3 separate regions of the Homo sapiens genome follow, and all the other regions are linked to region 2. The links are contacts of gene promoters, found by promoter capture Hi-C in blood cells and fetal thymus (Javierre and others, 2016). All regions are on one chromosome and are shown on one strand. Each heading gives the region's core, a stretch centred on a gene start or on the middle of the fragment in contact. The rest is flanking DNA. Distances are from core to core; before and after follow the strand shown. Region 1 has its middle 3.0 kb from the start of FAM89A. Region 2 holds the start of COG2 (component of oligomeric golgi complex 2). Region 3 overlaps TTC13 (tetratricopeptide repeat domain 13).

What was found. Contacts are between HindIII fragments. The CHiCAGO score rates a contact against its expected background, and 5 or more counts as called.
Region 1: a fragment that was not itself captured here is called in contact with the fragment with the promoter of COG2 in region 2 in 1 of 17 cell types (total CD8 T cells); the score reaches 5.2 in total CD8 T cells.
Region 3: a fragment that was not itself captured here is called in contact with the fragment with the promoter of COG2 in region 2 in 2 of 17 cell types (naive CD4 T cells and total CD8 T cells); the score reaches 7.0 in naive CD4 T cells.

What each region holds. Positions count from the first base shown.
Region 1 is chr1:231,041,866-231,044,565 of GRCh38, forward strand. No RefSeq gene overlaps it. Among named protein-coding and RNA genes, the nearest start is that of FAM89A, 3.0 kb to the left of the region's middle. The HindIII fragment of the contact is 2,784 bases long and covers 1-2,700 here.
Region 2 is chr1:230,641,119-230,643,818 of GRCh38, forward strand. It overlaps COG2 (component of oligomeric golgi complex 2), which reads left to right and starts at 1,363. Exons shown (of 18, transcript NM_007357.3): 1 at 1,363-1,560. The coding sequence starts at 1,489. RefSeq lists a silencer at 1,157-1,296 and an enhancer at 1,387-1,606. The HindIII fragment of the contact is 12,366 bases long and covers 1-1,888 here.
Region 3 is chr1:230,972,008-230,974,707 of GRCh38, forward strand. All of the region lies in intron 1 of TTC13 (tetratricopeptide repeat domain 13), which reads right to left. Among named protein-coding and RNA genes, the nearest start is that of TTC13, 5.5 kb to the right of the region's middle. RefSeq lists an enhancer at 854-1,093. The HindIII fragment of the contact is 2,997 bases long and covers 1-2,700 here.

The DNA of each region.
Region 1 (2,700 bases), core at 137-2,636, 400 kb after region 2:
AGTGCAGGCGGTGTGATTGACAGCACCCAGGCTTCCCACCCCACCCACTGCCCAGAATTTTCCGCCTCTTCACTGTGCCTCACCTTCTACTAATTACCTAGTCACATTTCTGGATGTCAGGTATTTATTCATTCACTTATGTAAACGGTGGGTGTCTTCAGGAGAGTGACCAGTCTGCCTGTGTGGGAGTAAGGGAGAGGAAGGGGTGGGAAGCATTTTGACATTCGGTTCACACCTTAGCATGAATTTTTTTTTTTTTATGAGACAGTCTATCACTCAAGCTAGAGTGCAGTGGCGTGATCTCAGCTCACTGCAACCTCTGCCTCCTGGGTCAAGCAATTCTCCTGTCTCTGCCTCCCAAGTAGCTGGAATTACAGGCATGTGCCACGACGCCCGACTAATTTTTGTATTTTTAGTAGAAATGGGGTTTCACGATGTTGGCCAGGCTGGTCTCGAACTCCTGACCTCAGGTGATCCACCCACCTCGGCCTCCCAAAGTGCTGGGATTACAGGTGTGAGCCATCGCGCCCAGCCTGCATGAATTTCTTTAATTTCACTGGTTACAATGCAGTCTCACCTGTAGTACCTAGCAGAAATCACTCAAGGTAGGTGATAGGAGATTCAGCTATGTGATGGTGAAATAAGAAAAGAAATCACTTTGAAGTATCGGGGCACTGAAAGCATTTTAAAGCACATACTTCAGAGAATTACGGATTACAGAAGGAAAAGGAGGTTAGGGTCAGCTAGACAGCAGCATGAGGTCCGTGGTGTCAGGACTCGAGAAAAGAGGCACAACTTAGACAATGCCAACCTTACCAATTTTTTTTTTCTTTTTTGAGATGGAGTCTCACTCTGTCGCCCAAGCTGGAGTGCAGTGGCGCGATCTTGGCTCACTGCAACCTCCACCTCTCGGGTTCAAGCAATTCTCCGCCTCAGCCTCCCAAGTAGCTGGGATTACAGGCACCCGCCACCATACCCATCACCATCTTGGCCAGGCTGGTCTTGAACTCCTGACCTCACGATCTACCCACCTCAGCCTCCCAAAGTGCTGGGATTACAGGCATGAGCCACCACGCCAGGCCAACCTTAACATTTTAAAGGCAGGCTCTGCGTTCTGGCCTATACTCAGTGAGGTAAGAGTATTGAAATCAGTATCAACAAATAATATCCCAGGGTAAGGAGAAGTTTCTACAGAATTTCTGTGGTGCTGGTGAAGACATTATTTGTACAAGCCTGAAACTATTATATAACAAATATTTTGACATCCTTGGGGAATGTTAGTGTCTGTTTATTCAAATGCCAATATAAAGTACCTTTTAAAGTTCATGCTTATAATGAGAGAGAAGTAGTAAATAACTTCTGACAGTGTGTTTTTTTGCATTAAGCCACTGAAACATTACCTTAGTCCATTTAGGCTGCTATAACAAAATACCTGAGACTGGATAATGTGTAAAGAACAGAAATGTATTGCTCACAGTTTTGGAGGCTGGAAGTCCAAGATCAAGGCACCAGCTGACGTGTGTGCTGAGAGCTCATTCCTCATAGATTTCACCTTCTGGGTGTCCTCACATTGCAGAAGGGGCCAGGGAGCGCCCTCAAGCCTCTTTTACAAGGGCACTGATTCCATTTACAAGGGCTTCACCTTCATGACCTAGACACCTCCCAAAGATCTCACTTCAATACCACCACATGGGGGTTAGGTTTCAACATATGAATTTGGGGCTGGCAGGGGGCACATACATTCAGACCATAGCAAAACATCTGTATTCTGAGTTCAAATCAGAGTGAGTCTTCATCATCACCCATGCAGCTGAATTAGTCTTTTCTGTTTTGTTTTGTTGTTCACAGGCTCTTGGAAATCAGAAAACACAAACTTCTAATCCAGTGCTCTATTCATTAACCCACATCTTTTCTTAGACTTTGTCAATCAAGGTTAGGGACCTGGGCCTTGGAGCACAAGCCTCAGAGTCACCAGTATCCAGGCATTTACTTAGAGATTATTCTCATGTGCCTCCATCCTGACCTTCCATTAACCCAGCCACTAGGTTCCTCCCCACCTCTAATCTCTGCCCACTTGTTGTTTGCTTTTGGGAACTCTAAAGAGTCTTTTTGTGCGTTTTATTTATTTTTGTTTTTTTTTATCATTCTCAAGTTTAATAACTTAGGTTGTTAATAGACTAGAAAGAACCTGAAAAAGACACCAGAAGTCCAACTGAGCTTGCCTTTTCAAGCTGATGACTTTAAATGCCGCTAACTATAGAGAAGTTTATCTTGCCATTTTTCATTTGTTGCAGAACCTAAAACTAGATTACTTTGAAAGCAACTGTGCAATGAATTTGGGCTACATTTTAGCAAATGTGTTTATTTCAAGACATAATTTCTTATATTTCAATCATTTCTAAAACAAATTGTAAATTTTAAAGGTTATATAATGCCTCTTAAAGATTTTTGTATGCAACTATGTGTACATATAAATGGGAAACTTGGCATTTAATCATAGAGTCCTTTATATAGTTTTTAAATTGTTGCCTTGTCACTTCAACAATATTTTTTATTTGGCCAGAGACAAGGATGATACTTTCTTTGCTATAGCACAATGCTGGGCACCTAGTGATAGCAAATATATATATAAATGGACATACTGTTCAATGTAATTTGTTGAGTAATTACTGTTAAAATAATTAATTGGGAGGTCATTAG
Region 2 (2,700 bases), core at 113-2,612:
TTTCATTTCCTCCAGCAAAACAAACATAACAGGGACTTAGGATGTACTTTTCCCAATCGCTCCTCTGGCAGAATATTTTGATCCTCCAGCTAGCTTCCGGCTCTTATCCTGTTCATCTGTTCTGTAGATACTGGCAGGAAATAGGCTCTTCAACAGGGCCTGCTAGGTCCAGTGCTAGGGAGTAGAGCGTTTTGGATTCTACGCCTACATTTTTTTTTAAGTGACCAGTTTTCTAGTTGAGATACTTGAAATACAAAGTCTCATGGTGAGGTCTTACCCTCTGCTGTCCCATTCCTTTTTACAGGCCATCATGGCGTTAATCTTATCTCCAAGGAGAAAAATTGGGAAGAGAGGCCTAGATTCCTCAACAGAAGCGGGAAGGAAAGGTTTGCAGAATGAAGAGTGTGAAGTGAGGTTTGTGGTTTGAATCATCCGAATGTCAAGGAGAAAAGAAGAAAAATGAATCATCATCATTTGACCACGGTATTTACAGCTAGCGGAAGGGACAAGAGGAGAAAAAAGCAAGGGAGGAGATAAAGGAAGAACGTCTCAGAATAAAATTGGGGTGGGTGGGGGGAGGAGGAGGAAGACAGTCTAAGAAATTGGTTTGGTTGCACCAGTACTGGCCACAACACAAAAATTTGTCCATTCCTGGTTGAAATTAAAAATAAATGTGCATGCACATGTATTTGTCTGCTGTGTTTAATCAGATAGCGAGGCACTCCTTTAAGCACCTTGAAGACCCAAAGTTGCGCTCAGAGGCTGCCCACCTGGAACGGAGACCGAGGTTGAGCAGGGAGCTACTCAGAGGACCCAAAGCCGCCTAGCTGACCACCTTCTTCCCTATGAGTTCCCAGTAACGGAGCCCAGTGGAGGAGACGCTACACTTCTCTGTGGGGACAGAGGCTAAGGGCGGGGGTCTCCATAGAGGCGTTAGCGCCCACCAGCGGCAGTGACCGCGCACAGGGAGGTGAAGAATGCGACCACGGTGATACGTCCAACCTGGAAAACGGGCCTGAGAACCAAAGGGCCAACTTCTGGCCATGCATAACGAAGCAGAGCAGTCTCAGGGTAGAAGGCACTGGAAAAGCGTTGTAGGACAATTTTTCCCAGTAGAAACGGTGGGGGTGGGAGGGAGACCCGCTCACCCCTTTTGACCCACCCCTGCAGCTCAGCCACGCCTCCTAGGGAGGTGGGCAGCCTTGCAGGAGCCCGCGCGAGGCTGCAGTACCGCCCTCCGCCACATGAGGGCAGCACGGCCTACCCGTGCAGCAGCGGCGGCCCCCGCGCCCCTCTTGGCCAGAGCCAGGCGCAGGCCGGCTTGCGGTGCCGTCGTTCATTGGCCGCGGCGCGGGCGCTGCCATGTTGGCGGAAGCGGACCCCCCTGTGCCGTGGAAACTGGCGGTGGCCGCGGCCGCCGAGTCGGTCTGCGCAGCCTCCTGCGTTTTCTCGCTTGGATCTTGGCACTGAGAGGCGGTGGCCGGCGGGATGGAGAAAAGTAGGATGAACCTGCCCAAGGGGCCGGACACGCTCTGCTTCGACAAGGACGAGTTCATGAAGGTGCGCGCGGCGTCCGCTCCCCGGAGCCGGGCCATGAGGGTGCCTCTGCCCTGTGCCCTCTGTGGCGGTCTCTTCGGTCGGCTGCTCCTGCCTGCGCACGCTCAGTGTCAGGTCCTCCGCCGAGACCTCGCTGCACTTCGCAATGAGTCTTTTGGCGTCAGGTTTGGCGGGTGCAGCCTGGAGAAAGCACTTCTGTAAAATCGTGCGTGTTACATGGAAAGGCCTGAAAGTTCTGGGCAAGTGGTTTTGAGCTGCATGTCAAAGCCACTGTTACCCGTTCCTGTTACCATGCAGTGCAGTCAGATTGCCAGTCCCCTTGTCGGAAAGAAGCTTGTGGACCGGGGCCTTGGAGCTCATTAAGTGTGTGTTGAATAAATCTCCAAGCCCACGTACTTTCCTAGGGACTCGGGTCGGAAAGAAAAAGAACTTAATCTGAAGTTTTGCTTAACATTCAGCTAAAGCTTCCAGAATGGGATATTTAGAAGCTTAGAACATTCTTACCGACTATTGCAGTACGACAAAGCAAACCATTACTCTTTAAAGAAGTTGCTCTACTTTTTACGTGATGCATTTGAAGAAGTTGGTAGTTGTAGGTCATAAACTTAGAGAAAAGAAATATAAACTGAAAACACTTCACTGATGATAAAGTTCATCAGGCACAGCCTTGAAAATGGCCAGGCTTTGAGTGAGAGCTGGGAGGAGCTTTGCTCCTACTTGGTGTATCCCTCTGGGTCTGCACTTAAGCCATTCAAAAAATGTTTCTATTTAATTTCCTGAGGACTAGGATTTTTGACACCTTTTAGTAGCTGCTTTCAGTGTTAAAAAGCGAAAAGTTTTAGCTGGTTAGTAGACATCTACAATTTTGAGCAAGTGAGTTGAAATCTTACTCTGCCTTTCTTGGTGACATAATGTTTTCTAGATTAATTAGCCTATCTCTTTTTGATAATATTTGCATTCAGATTACATCTCCAAAGCTGTTTTTTTTTAAAGTAGATCTGTATCTTCTCCAGTGTGACCATATCATTTTTCGTATGTAGGACTTATCTATACCCAGGAATAATGTACCTTATTCTTGTAAGTGATATTCCTATTAGACCACTGTACTAAAAGGTGTAACTTCATTAGGATGTCTCAAAGAAT
Region 3 (2,700 bases), core at 161-2,660, 330 kb after region 2:
TAGTGACAAGGGAACACAGAGTCACTGAGAACATTGCAAACACCAGCAGGGAAGAGTTGCAAGAGAAGACAACTGGTCTTCTTGTGCAGAGGTGGTCCTGAGATGCACCAACTGATTCCTAAGTGAGAGTCTATGGAAAGAATGCCAGCACATGTGCAGTGTAAGTCCACTGCATGGTGCTGGACTCTAAATCAGACAAAACATTTCCCAAATGAAACTAGGGTTAGCATGGAATGAGACTATCGGCAATCTTAAAAACAGACAGCTATTGATTTCGGTTCTTTCTGATTACATCAGTTGTTCAGCTTATGAAAACGTATTGAGCTATCTACACTTAGGACATATGCACTCTCCTGTATATATGTTGTATTTTGATAAAAAAGTAAAACCAAAACATAAGAAAAGGAATATGCTGGAAAGCATTCACCCAAAGTATTAAAATTCTGCCGCTTTGATAAATTATTTATTCTATCTGCAAGATAAGATGAGCCCAAACAAAATGACCTCTTTAAAACAACTCATTGTGAAAGGGAGAAGGTTTAAAAGTCAGTCAAGTATATATTGAGTGCAGTGAAGCTAAACTGTCTGTACATTGAGTGGTGCACATTGAAGAGCCTTGACTTTCCTACAGTCATGCTCCAGGTAGGTTCTAAAACCCAAGTCACACCATTTTTGCCTCCACCCAGAGATTAAAAAATAATAATTAACCCTTATCACCTGAAGTTGAACAGGTTTAGCAGTATGTAGATCTTTTAAAAGGTAGATGTAATTCTTAATGACAACAGATATACGTGAAAAAGCGAATCATAGGCTGCCATCGTCATAGGGCTTATGCTATAAAATGCTACTTCTAAACCAGAGGATTTGCTGAAAGATGCTGTTCAGTGAGCAAAAGGGAAACACCCTCTGGCAATGCCACAGGGGCCAGGATGTGGCAAGATCACAATCTCTTCATCACTCTGTGCCTCAGTCTCTGAGCACAGCGACTTTGCACTGGCAAATTTACTCAGGAATGCCTTGAAAAACAAGATATGAAGAGGTCTGCCATGAAACTATGTATGATGACAAACACAGAAAATCAGGGCCAGGAGATGAAAGGATTGACCAGATACACTCACAGTAATGGTTACCACAATTGCTATGACTGAGCACAAAATGTGGTTCTTAACTTCCTCATAGAGCAAAAAAGGAAATAGCTCTCATAAGTTTCCTTCTATTGATTCTCTACCACCTCTAGGCATAGCAGTGATCTATGTGCTGTGAGCAAAAAGACTGACTTCATGTATTTAAATGGCCAATTCCTTAATTAAGAAAGCTACCATATACATGGACAATCTCAGTGTTACCAATTTTGTCAAAAACACAGAGCTAGGTTCATAGCTACTTCCTTATTTTTCTGGCAGTTCACAATTCTCAAATTGGACAAACAGATTCTAAATGCCTTTTCCCATAAAGAACTGTGGGAAAATAGAATAAATGCAATTCTGCTTTCATTGATTTCAACAAACTAATGAAAATTAAGACATCAAGTACAGGGCTGCATCACTCAAGAGCAGTGAAAAAAGGCTGAAGGCATTGGAAAAAAAGATTCACACAAACTCACTGTTCTTGTTACTACTACATTTTCAAGGCGAGAGGAGAAAACAAAAGTATTTTTAAAACAACTTCTAGAAATGCATATGCTTGAACCATAAAATATACCTTATACTGTCTGTAAAGAGTATAAAGATATAATTTAATACATGATTTGAAAGAGATGCAGTTTAGCTTTGGTAAGAAGAGCAGAGGGGCCGGGCGTGGTGGCTCACGCCTGTAATTCCAGCACTTTGGGACGCTGAGGTGGGCAGATCACGAGGTCAGGAGTTCGAGACCAGCCTGGCCAACATGGTGAAACCCCATCTCTACTAAAAATACAAAAAATTAGTCAGGCTTGGTGGCAGGCGCCTGTAATTCCAGCTACTTGGGAGGCTGAGGCAGGAGAATCACTTGAACCTGGGAGGCAGAGGTTGCAGTGAGCCGAGATCACGCCATTGCACTCCAGCCTGGGTGACAGGGCGATACTCCATCTCAAAAAAAAAAAAAAAGAAGAGCAGAGAACCTGAATTTTTAAATCAATGAACAAGTTACAAATTTCACAAGACCTTAATGTAGCAGATCTACAGAGTGTTGAATTAAGATATTTCTAAGATCTCTCCAAATCTCACTCTATCTAAGTCTCAGCTCAAATGTCTCCTTACCAGAAGCCATCCCGGGGCACCTCTTAAAGTAGCACCTACACACTGCTCTTTATCCTCTCACACTGCTTTATTTTCAAGGCATGTATTACTGGGCCCTACTATATAGAGTCATGCGCCACATAATGATTCGGCCAATGATGGACCACGTATGTGTGAGAATGGTCCCATCAGACGGTAATACCACATTTTCACTGTACATTTTCTGTATTTAGATACACAAACACTTGTCACTATGTTACAACTGCCTACAGTATTGAGTACAGTAACATGCTACAGGTCTGTAGCCTAGAAGCAATAGGCTATACCATACAACCAAGGTGTGTAATGGGCTATTCCATCTCGGTCTAAGTACACTCTTTGATGTTTGCACCATGATGAAATCGCCTAACGACACATTTCTCAAAACATACCCTGTTGTTAAATGGTATGTAACTGTACTTATTTCTTCCCTCACCAAGACACA